2 separate regions of the Homo sapiens genome follow, and region 1 is linked to region 2. Evidence: promoter capture Hi-C in 16 types of primary human blood cells and fetal thymus (Javierre and others, 2016). All regions are on one chromosome and are shown on one strand. The core of a region is centred on a gene start or on the middle of the fragment in contact, and the rest is flanking DNA. Distances in the headings are between cores, read along the strand shown.

Region 1 (4,996 bases), core at 876-3,375, 530 kb before region 2:
TTTTTTGTAGAAATGAGGTTTCACCACGTTGCCCAGGCTGGTCTGAAACTCCTGGGCTCAAATGATCTGCCTGCCTTGGCCTCGCAAAGTGCTGGGATTACAGGCGTGAGCCACCGTGCCCGGCCTTGTTTCATGATTTATATGTACAGTCAGCCCTCTGTATCTGTAGATTCTGCAACCATGGATCCAATCAACCTCACATCAAAAATATTTGGGAAAATAGGCCAGGCAAGGTGGCTCACGCCTATAATCCCAGCACTTTGGGAGGCTGAGGTGGGCAGACCACTTGAGGTCAGGAGTTCGAGACTAGCCTGGCCAACATGGTGAAACCCCGTCCCTACTAAAAATACAAAAAAAATTAGCTGGGTGTGGGGGTGGACACTTGTAATCCCAGCTACTCTGGAGGCTGAGGCAGGAAAATTGCTTGAACCCAGGAGGCGGAGGTTGCAGTGAGCTGAGATCATGCCACTGTACTCCAGCCTGGGCAAAGAGAGAGAGACTGTCTCAAAAAAAAAAAAAAAAAAAAAAAAAAGTAGGGAACACAAAAAATAACAATACAACAATAAAAAATAATACAAATAAGGCCAGGTGTGGTGGCTCATGCCTGTAATCCCAGCACTTTGGGAGACCGAGGCGGGTGGATCACAGGGTCAGGACTAGTTCAAGACTAGCCTGGCCAAGATGGTGAAACCCCGTCTCTACTAAAAATACAAAAAATTAGCCAGGCATGGTCATGGGCACCTGTAATCCGAGCTACTCAGGAGGCTGAGGCAGAGAACTGCTTGAACCCGGGAGGCAGTGGTTGCAGTCAGCTGAGATCGTGCCACTGTACTCTAGCCTGGGTGACAGAGTGAAACTCCGTCTCAAAAAAAAAATAATAATACAAATAAAAAGCAATACAATATAGCAACTATTGCATGGCATTTACATTGTATTAGGTATTATAAGTAACCTAGAGATGATTTAAAGTATATTGGAGGATATACATATTTGATGCAAATACTTCACCATATTATATAAGAGACTTGAGTGTCCCGTCCTCTGATTATGGAATTGTCAGGGGGATCCTGGAACCAGTTCCCTGAGGATACCATGGGACAACTATATTTTGTCTTCCTGATGAAGGAAACAGCATCTCCATTCTCCCTTACCTTTCCTCTCCCCTGGTATCACTTCTTGTGGGATCTCTGGGGTGTGTACATGTTGGGAGGTAACTGTGAGGTAGAGAAGAGAATGCAGAGAACAAAGAGATTGATGTGGATAAGACCACACTGTGGAGTCCCTCCTAGGGATGTCCTCAGGATTAAGCTGACACTTACAGAGTAGGGGCCACATACACTGTAGTGGAAGGGAATTGTCCCGGCAGGAGCTGGCAGGATGGAAGTGTGGATTGTGAGCACCTAGAGGATGAGGCGGCAGGCAGCTTTTCTATGGAGCTGAGAAGAAGGAGTCTGAAGAAACACCCAGGAAATAAAAGAGGGGGACCTTTGCCAGGTGTGGTGGCTCATGCCTGTAATCCCAGAACTTTGGAGGCTAAGGCAGGAGGATCACCTGAGGCCAAGAGGTTGAGACCACCCTGGGCAACATAGTGAGACCTCTTCTCTACAAATAATTAAAAAATTAGCCAGGCATGGTAGCATGTACTTGTTTGTGGTCCCAGCTACTTGGGAGGCTGAGGCAGGAGAATCACTTGAGCCTAGGTAGTTAAGGCTGTGTTGAGCCAACATTGCCCCACTGCACTCCACCCTGGGCAACAGCGAGACCCTGTCTCAAAAAAACCAAAAGATGTTCAAGGGGATGCTCAAGATAGGCAGAACTTTGCTAAGTTGCTCGGTTCCCTTCAAAAAAGGGAATCAGTAGAGAAAAATGAGCATAGATTTTGACTCCTGTGTCTTCCCAAACATCTCAGCTGAGCGTGGTCCAAAGTTTTATCCCTCTCTTTACAGCCTAACTATTCTTTCTCAAAGGTATGTCCCCCCAGACCAAGTCAAGGGGCCCACTTATACCAAAGGCAGTGCCTCCACCCCTGTGCAGGGCTCCATCCCAGAAGGGAAGCCCCTTCGGACACTTCTGGGTGATCCTGCACCGTCTCTCTCAGTTGCTGCCTCCACCTCGAGCCAGGTAACTCTCAGATCTGCTCGTCATGTTTCTTTTGAGATTTGGGAGACAGGAGTGTCAGTTTCCTGAATCAGATTCCCCGGACTTAGCAGACAACAGTGCAGGAGCTGTGAGTTGGGTCTCGGCTCTGCTGTTAACCTGTATCTTGTATTTGTCACTTCTGGACCTCATATCTTTTGGAAGTCAGAACCTAACAGGAAGTGGTATTTAGGAAAGTCAGAATATCAGCTCCAAACCTGAGCATTCCATCAAAGAAACACAGAAGGGGCTGGAATATGGTGTCCAATACCTGGGAAGGTTGAGGAGTAACAGCCCTGGGGGCAGTATTGGGCAGTATTCCTGTATATCTCAGGGTTACCTTGGCTCATGTGCTGTAAAATGTGTGGTTCTTGGAGCAGGTGTACTGAGAAGATGAGGATGATATGAGCTCTGAGAGGGGCTAAGGCAGCTCCTGCCCAGGAATCTTCTAGGTTGAGGGCAGTTACTCACTGTCTTCTCTCTCTACCTGCCTATCTGAGGGCAACCTGGGGAGCCAGAGGAGGGCCTGGGGCATGTCTGGGATTCTAAGGGCTGTATGCATTCCTTCTCCTCCAAGCCCGTCAGTCAGTCTCACGCTCGGACATCCCAGGCCCGGAGCACTCAGCCACCTCCCCACTCCTCTGTCAAAAAAGCCAGTACTGACCTGCTGGCTGACATCGGTGGAGACCCCTTTGCTGCACCCCAGATGGCACCAGCTTTTGCTGCATTCCCTGCCTTTGGGGGTAAGTGGGTTTTGGGATGGGACCCTCCCTACAGCGTATATGCTTACAACATGAGAGATCCAGTCCCTGGAGGTAACCATGGCTCTAGATCTTCTCATGCAAACAAATGTGAGGGTCACTCTGAAGCAGTGAGGCTGGGAGGACTGGGGTCAAATAAGTACAGCCAGGATTATGTTTGGGGGTTTGATCCTAAAACATTATAGTTGAGGGCTCCTAGCACTTCCTTTTAGAACACTGGAAATAGCCTTTTTTATTATTTTCTGTCTCTGTTAAAATGGGAGGAGGGGGATTATCATGTGTTCCAGTTCACCAAAGATTATTCTTCCCCCAAATCAGCAATAGCCAGTAGAGGGTTCAGCAGCATAGAATCTGTTTTCCCTTTTTAAAAATTTTCAAGCCAGACACAGTGGCTCACACCTGTAATCCTAGCATTTGAGAGGCTGAGGTGGGCAGATCACCTGAGGTCAGGAGTTCAAGACCAGTCTGGCCAACATGGTGAAACCTCATCTCTACTAAAAAGAAAAAAAAAATTAGCCAAGTGTGGTGGCATGTGCCTGTAGTCCCAGCTACTTGGGAGGCTAAGGCAGGAGAATTGCTTGAACCTAGGAGGTGGAGGTTGCAGTGAATCACAATTGCATCACTGGACTCCAGCCTAGGTGACAGAGTGAGACTCCGTCTCAAAAAAAAAAAAAAAAAAAAAAAAATTCAAGCTCCTTCCTCCATGAAAAAAAATTTTCATGCTCCAAACTAGGCCCTGACAAAAATGTTAATGCCTCATGGAGTAAGGACAGAAGAGGGCAGGGAGTGAACCTGGAGGCCCTGGGTGCCCCTGTTCCCCTGTGTGGGTCTGGCTCTTGGCCCCAGGCCCCACCCATTTCCCTCTGAAGAGAACCCTGTGGAAAGGCAGATGTCCCATAAGAGTGGCCTTTGGCCTTTAGAATTAGTAGCTATATTACATGGATAGGCATATACATTTTCTTTTCTTTTTCTGTTGTGTGTGTGTGGTTTTTTTTTTTTTTTTTTTTTTTTTTTTGAGTCAGAGTCTCATTCTGTCACCCAGGCTAGAGTAGAGTGGCACAATCTCGGCTCACTGCTAGCTCCACCTCCCAGGTTTAAGCAATTCTCATGCCTCAGCCTCCAAGGTAGCTGGGATTACAGGCATGTACCACCACGCCCAGCTAATTTTTATATTTTTAGTAGAGACAGATTTCACCATGTTGACCAGGCTGGTCTTGAACTTCTGACCTCAAGTGATCTGCCCACCTCGGCCTCCCAAAGTGCTGGAATTACAGGCGTGAGCTACCACACCCGACAATTTTCTATATAACCTTTATGTTTCTTCCACCTACAGGCCAGACACCTTCCCAAGGAGGCTTTGCCAACTTTGATGCCTTTAGCAGTGGCCCCAGCTCTTCTGTGTTTGGAAGCCTCCCTCCAGCTGGTCAAGCCTCGTTCCAGGCCCAGCCAACTCCTGCAGGTAAACTCTGCCCCACTGGCTTCCTTTCTCTTCCAACCGTGTCCATTTGTTCATGTCTATAAATCACCATTCATATCCTCACTATCCTAAAGAACTGCTCAAAGCAGCAAAGCACAAAGAGAAGCAGCTCCAGGAGAGGATGAGCGTGTCTGACACATTCTTGTCAGGGAGAGGGGGCTCTACTGTTCTGCTTTTTCATGAAAGGAAAATGACTAAGATTGCAGCAGGAGCTGTGTGGGTTATACACTAGGAAACTTTTCACTAGGAAGTATGGAAGACCTGAGTCCTAGAAAAATTGAAAATGGACGTGACTTTTTCTCTAAGGTGCTCTTGTCTGCATAGTACGCTGTCCCAAAGGGTCAAGGGTCAAGGTAGTCTCCAGAAGTCCTCATCCATCCCTCTAAGACCAAAGGCCTGTAAACTCTATGTTGCTGCCAGCCACAATGGCTCACGCCTGCAATCCTAACACTTTGGGAGGCCGAGGTGGGAGGATCGCTTGAGCCCAGGAGTTTGAGGCTGTAGTGAGTGATTATTGTGCCATTGCACTCCAGTCTGGGTGACAGAGTGAGACCCCATCTCAAAACAAACGAACGAACAAACAAAACCAAATAAACTATGTTATTTAGCCATTGCAAGAGAC
Region 2 (5,096 bases), core at 649-3,148:
TGCCCAGGCTGGAGTGCAATGGTGCGATCTAGGCTCGCTGCAACCTCTGCCTCCCAGGTTTAAGCAGTTCTCCTGCCTCAGCCTACCGAGTAGCTAGGAAGGCTAGGTTTTGTTTTGTTTTGTTTTGTTTTTTAGTAGAGACGAGGTTTTGCCATGTTGGCCAGGCTGGTCTCGAACTCCTGGCCTCAAGTGATTCTCCCAAAGTGCTGAGATTACAGGTGTGAGCCACTGCACCTGGCCTGTTTTTCTGTCTTCACCTTGGTTGCCCGTCTGGTTGGTAGCATTCAACAGTGCTGACCCCCTCGTCCTTCTAGAAGTGCAGCATTTCCTGCCTTGGCCTCTGTGACCCTCTCTCTTTTGGATTTCCACCTACCTCTCTGGCATCTATGTCTCAGCCCCTCCACCTTTCACCTGGACCCTGAGGTCAGGCTCCCTTCTGTCCTCTCGGCTGCTGCCAGAGTGAGCTCTTACAGCTTCAGTTTCCTACTTAAATTCCGCCATGTGGATAAAAAGGTACAAACATGCATAGGTATGTCATGAATTAATTACGGTAAAATGATAATTGTAGAACAGAAGTGGTGGAGATATGGGTGTTCACCGCAATTCTTTCAACTTCTTTGTGCTTTGAATTTTTCATAAAATGAGGCTGTGCATGTTGGCTCACGCCTGTAATCCCAGCACTTTGGGAGGCCAAGGTGGGTGGATCACTTGAGGTCAGAAGTTCGAGACCAGCCTGGCCAACATAGTGAAACCCCATCTCTACTAAAAATACAAAAATTAGCTGGGCGTGGCAGTGAGTGCCCGTAATCCCAGCTACTTTGGAGGCTGAGGCAGGAGGATCGCTTGAACCCGGGAAGCGGAGGTTGCTGTGAGCTAAGATCACACCACTGCACTCCAGCCTGGGCGACAGAGCGAGGCTTTGTCTCAAAATAAAAATTATTTTTTCATGAAATGTTGAGGGAAATCTCCTGCAATGATTCTTTTGTCTTTTTTGATAAAATGCAGGCTTCTCTGCCAACACTCTCGTATCCTCTCCACACACATCATCCTAAATGGGGATGTACCCTTGCTGCTCCCAGTACCTGGAACAGGAACATTCTTCTCAGTGTTCTCCAGCCCTCTATGCCCTCTTACTGTTTTATTTTTTAGACAGGGTCTTGCTCTGTCATCCAGGCTGGAGTGCAGTGTCACCATCATGGCTCACTGCAGCCTCGACCTCCCAGGTTCAAGTGATTCTCCTGCCTCAGTCTCCTGAGTATCTGGGATTACAGGTATGCGCTACCATGCACGGCTAGCGAATTTTTTATGGAGACTGGGTCTCACCATATTGCCCAAGCTGGTCTTGAACTCCTGGGCTGAAGCAATCCTCCCGCCTTCTTTAAACTCATCTCATTGATGCCTTCTCCAGGAAGCCTGTGCTGTTCCCTCAGCAAGAGGCTTCTTACCTGATCCCCCACAGCCTCTCCTACAGCTCAGCAACGGTTTATGGAATGAAAGGCCTCTCTTGAAGCTTTGCAGGCACCTGCCTGCCTGAGGTGTTAGCAAATCTGCAGACCCGCCCTGAGGCCATGTGTCTAGTTACCCTGGTCTCTGAATCACAGATGAGCTCTCATTTCTTCCCACAAATAAACCCTGTGACCCTCCACCCTCTACTCAGAGAACCCGCCCTCAGGTAGTTCCCTGTTTGTGACATACACACACTTAGCCCTGAGGCTGGACTGACAGGCCGACCTGGCTGGTGGACTCCAGCCCAAGCCTGCCAGCTGCCTGCCGGGGTGGGGGCCTTGGCGGGAGAGGACGGGGCCGGGTGGGGAGGAAGGCGGGGCCTGAGGCTGTGCGAGGCGAGTCGGTGTGTCCCTGGCTGGGACGGAAGTTGCACCACAAGTACAATTAGTTTCAGTTTTGTTTCTTTTCCAGGCACCCAGCAACGGCGGCCTCCAGGCCTCAGGCCCCCTCACCATCCTAGAGGTCAAGATCAGCTCTGGCTAGGTAAGGGGTGGGGGGCGGCACAGCTATAGGAAGGACCGAGCGGAGGGAGTAGGGGGAGGGGAGTGGAGAGAGAGCGCGGGAGGAGGAGGAAGGGAAGGAAAGGGAGGGCGTGAAGAGGCACCCGGAAGGCAGGAGGAGAGGGCAGGAGGGAAACTGCACTCGCCTCCCTCCCGCTCCGTGGCCACAGGTCCCCGCAAGAAAGACCCCGTCCCACTCTCTGAGGTCTCCTCCCAGCTCCAGAAAAGGGGACATTCCACCTAGTCTGCCCAACAAGTAGGTCTCAGCCACTGTGCCAGGAGCTCGGGACTCCCTCCCTCCAGAGGTTTCTGGAATGCATTCAGCAGGAAAAGCTAAAAGAACAGGACTCCAGGAGATAAGCCAAGGCCAAGTCTATCAGAGGGTGAGCCAGCAGCGGGAAGGGGACCAGCCCTTCCCCTAGCGTTTTTTCTGCCCGCTCCAGAATCCGCTTTAGAAACTGTTAAATGCAGAAAGTGGGGCCTCCACCACCCGCGATGCTGCCCCAGGTCTAGCAGAAGACAGGTGTAAGGCCAGGCGGGTGCGGTGGCTCATGCCTGTAATCCTAATGCTTTGGGAAGGCCGAGACGGGAGGATAGCCTGAGGCCAGGAGTTGGAGACCAGCCTGGGCAACATAGCAAGACCCCATCTCTACAAAAAGTGATAATTTTTAAAAAATGGGCTGGCTGGGCCCCTGGGCATGGTGGCTCACGCCTATAATCCCAGCACTTTGGGAGACCGAGGAGGGCGGATCACCTGAGGTCAGGAGTTCAAGACCAGCCTGGCCAATAGGGCCAAACTCCATTTCTACTAAACATACAAAAATTAGCCGGGTGTGATGGTGCGCACCTGTAATCACAGCTACTCGGGAGGCTGAGGCAGGAGAATCACTTGAACCTGGCAGGTGGAGGTGGCAGTGAGCCAAGATCGCACCACTGCACTCCAGCCTGGGCAACAGAGTGAGACTCTGTCTCAAAAAAAAAAAAAAAAAAAAAAAAGGCTGGGCATGGTGGCACATGCCTGTACTCCCAACTACTCAAAAGACTTGAGTCTAGGAGTTTGAGGCTGCAGTGAACTACGATCACGCCACTGCACTCCAGCCTGGGTGACAGAGGGTGACCCTATTGCTAAAAACTAAAATAAAATAAAAAGAAGGCAGGTGTATGGGGCTTGGAGGATTAAAGCCCCCTAAGCTACTGCAAGATCCTACCCCAACTGGCAGGACCTAGGCATCTCTGCCCACTGGGATCCCCGTCTGTGTCCTTACTGCCTGCTCCTCGCACCCTGGCACCCTATACAGCAGGACCCCAGTACCTGTGCACACAGGAGGGCTTCCACCATGTTTGCCACAAGGCCTGTGGACTGGGGACACTGAGGATTCGATTATTAGCTAAGGCCAGGGACTCCTGGTCTTGTCAGTTCTCACAGGTCTGACCCAACAAGTAGCACTGACATTTTTACGTTTGCTGGATGTACACACGGAAGTGGAGGAGGAGGAGGAGAAGGAGGAGGGCAGCTCCTTAGCTCAAGAGCAAGTGGCCCAAGGCCTCAGAAGACTAGAAGGAAGTTCCTGGCCATTCAGGTGAGACCTCAGGTTCCTTCCCGGCCATTTGGGTCAGCCCCTAGCCCTGGGGATCCGTGGGGCTTGAGGACGGGCGGTAGAAGCTAGAGGGTGAGCTGGTGAAGGTGCCTTCTCAACTCTGATCCTGACGCCTCTGCCTGCAGCATGGTTTCCCACGGGTCCTCGCCCTCCCTCCTGGAGGCCCTGAGCAGCGACTTCCTGGCCTGTAAAATCTGCCTGGAGCAGCTGCGGGCACCCAAGACACTGCCCTGCCTGCATACCTACTGCCAAGACTGCCTGGCACAGCTGGCGGATGGCGGCCGCGTCCGCTGCCCCGAGTGCCGCGAGACAGTGCCTGTGCCGCCCGAGGGTGTGGCCTCCTTCAAGACCAACTTCTTCGTCAATGGGCTGCTGGACCTGGTGAAGGCCCGGGCCTGTGGAGACCTGCGTGCCGGGAAGCCAGCCTGTGCCCTGTGTCCCCTGGTGGGTGGCACCAGCACCGGGGGGCCGGCCACGGCCCGGTGCCTGGACTGTGCCGATGACTTGTGCCAGGCCTGTGCCGACGGGCACCGCTGCACCCGCCAGACCCACACCCACCGCGTGGTGGACCTGGTGGGCTACAGGGCCGGGTGGTATGATGAGGAGGCCCGGGAGCGCCAAGCGGCCCAGTGTCCCCAGCACCCCGGGGAGGCACTGCGCTTCCTGTGCCAGCCCTGCTCACAGTTGCTGTGCAGAGAGTGCCGCCTAGACCCCCACCTGGACCACCCCTGCCTGCCTCTGGCTGAAGCTGTGCGTGCCCGGAGGCCGGGCCTGGAGGGACTGCTGGCCGGTGTGGACAATAACCTGGTGGAGCTGGAGGCAGCGCGGAGGGTGGAGAAGGAGGCGCTAGCCCGGCTGCGGGAGCAGGCGGCCCGGGTGGGGACTCAGGTGGAGGAGGCGGCTGAGGGCGTCCTCCGGGCCCTGCTGGCCCAGAAGCAGGAGGTGCTGGGGCAGCTACGAGCCCACGTGGAGGCTGCCGAAGAAGCTGCTCGGGAGAGGCTGGCGGAGCTTGAGGGCCGGGAGCAGGTGGCCAGGGCCGCAGCCGCCTTCGCCCGCCGGGTACTCAGCCTGGGGCGAGAGGCCGAGATCCTCTCCCTGGAAGGGGCGATCGCACAGCGGCTCAGGCAGCTGCAGGGCTGCCCCTGGGCACCAGGCCCGGCCCCCTGCCTGCTCCCACAGCTGGAGCTCCATCCTGGGCTCCTGGACAAGAACTGCCACCTTCTTCGGCTGTCCTTTGAGGAGCAGCAGCCCCAGAAGGATGGTGGGAAAGACGGAGCTGGTACCCAGGGAGGTGAGGAGAGCCAGAGCCGGAGGGAGGATGAGCCGAAGACTGAGAGACAGGGTGGAGTCCAGCCCCAGGCTGGAGATGGAGCCCAGACCCCAAAAGAGGAAAAAGCCCAGACAACCCGAGAAGAGGGAGCCCAGACCTTGGAGGAGGACAGGGCCCAGACACCCCACGAGGATGGAGGACCCCAGCCCCACAGGGGTGGCA

Evidence for each region. Contacts are between HindIII fragments. The CHiCAGO score rates a contact against its expected background, and 5 or more counts as called.
Region 1: a contact is called between a fragment that was not itself captured here and the fragment with the promoter of TRIM56 in region 2, in 1 of 17 cell types (neutrophils). The highest score is 5.5, in neutrophils.

Annotation. Positions count from the first base shown.
Region 1 is chr7:100,551,380-100,556,375 of GRCh38, forward strand. AGFG2 (ArfGAP with FG repeats 2) reads left to right here. Exons shown (of 12, transcript NM_006076.5): 4 at 1,968-2,121; 5 at 2,714-2,879; 6 at 4,231-4,356. Among named protein-coding and RNA genes, the nearest start is that of AGFG2, 15 kb to the left of the region's middle. The HindIII fragment of the contact is 8,538 bases long and covers 1-4,996 here.
Region 2 is chr7:101,083,583-101,088,678 of GRCh38, forward strand. It overlaps TRIM56 (tripartite motif containing 56), which reads left to right and starts at 1,899. Exons shown (of 3, transcript NM_030961.3): 1 at 1,899-1,989; 2 at 3,424-3,586; 3 at 3,730-5,096. The coding sequence starts at 3,731. RefSeq lists enhancers at 256-756, 1,460-1,509, 3,591-4,231, 4,232-4,871. The HindIII fragment of the contact is 9,878 bases long and covers 1,509-5,096 here.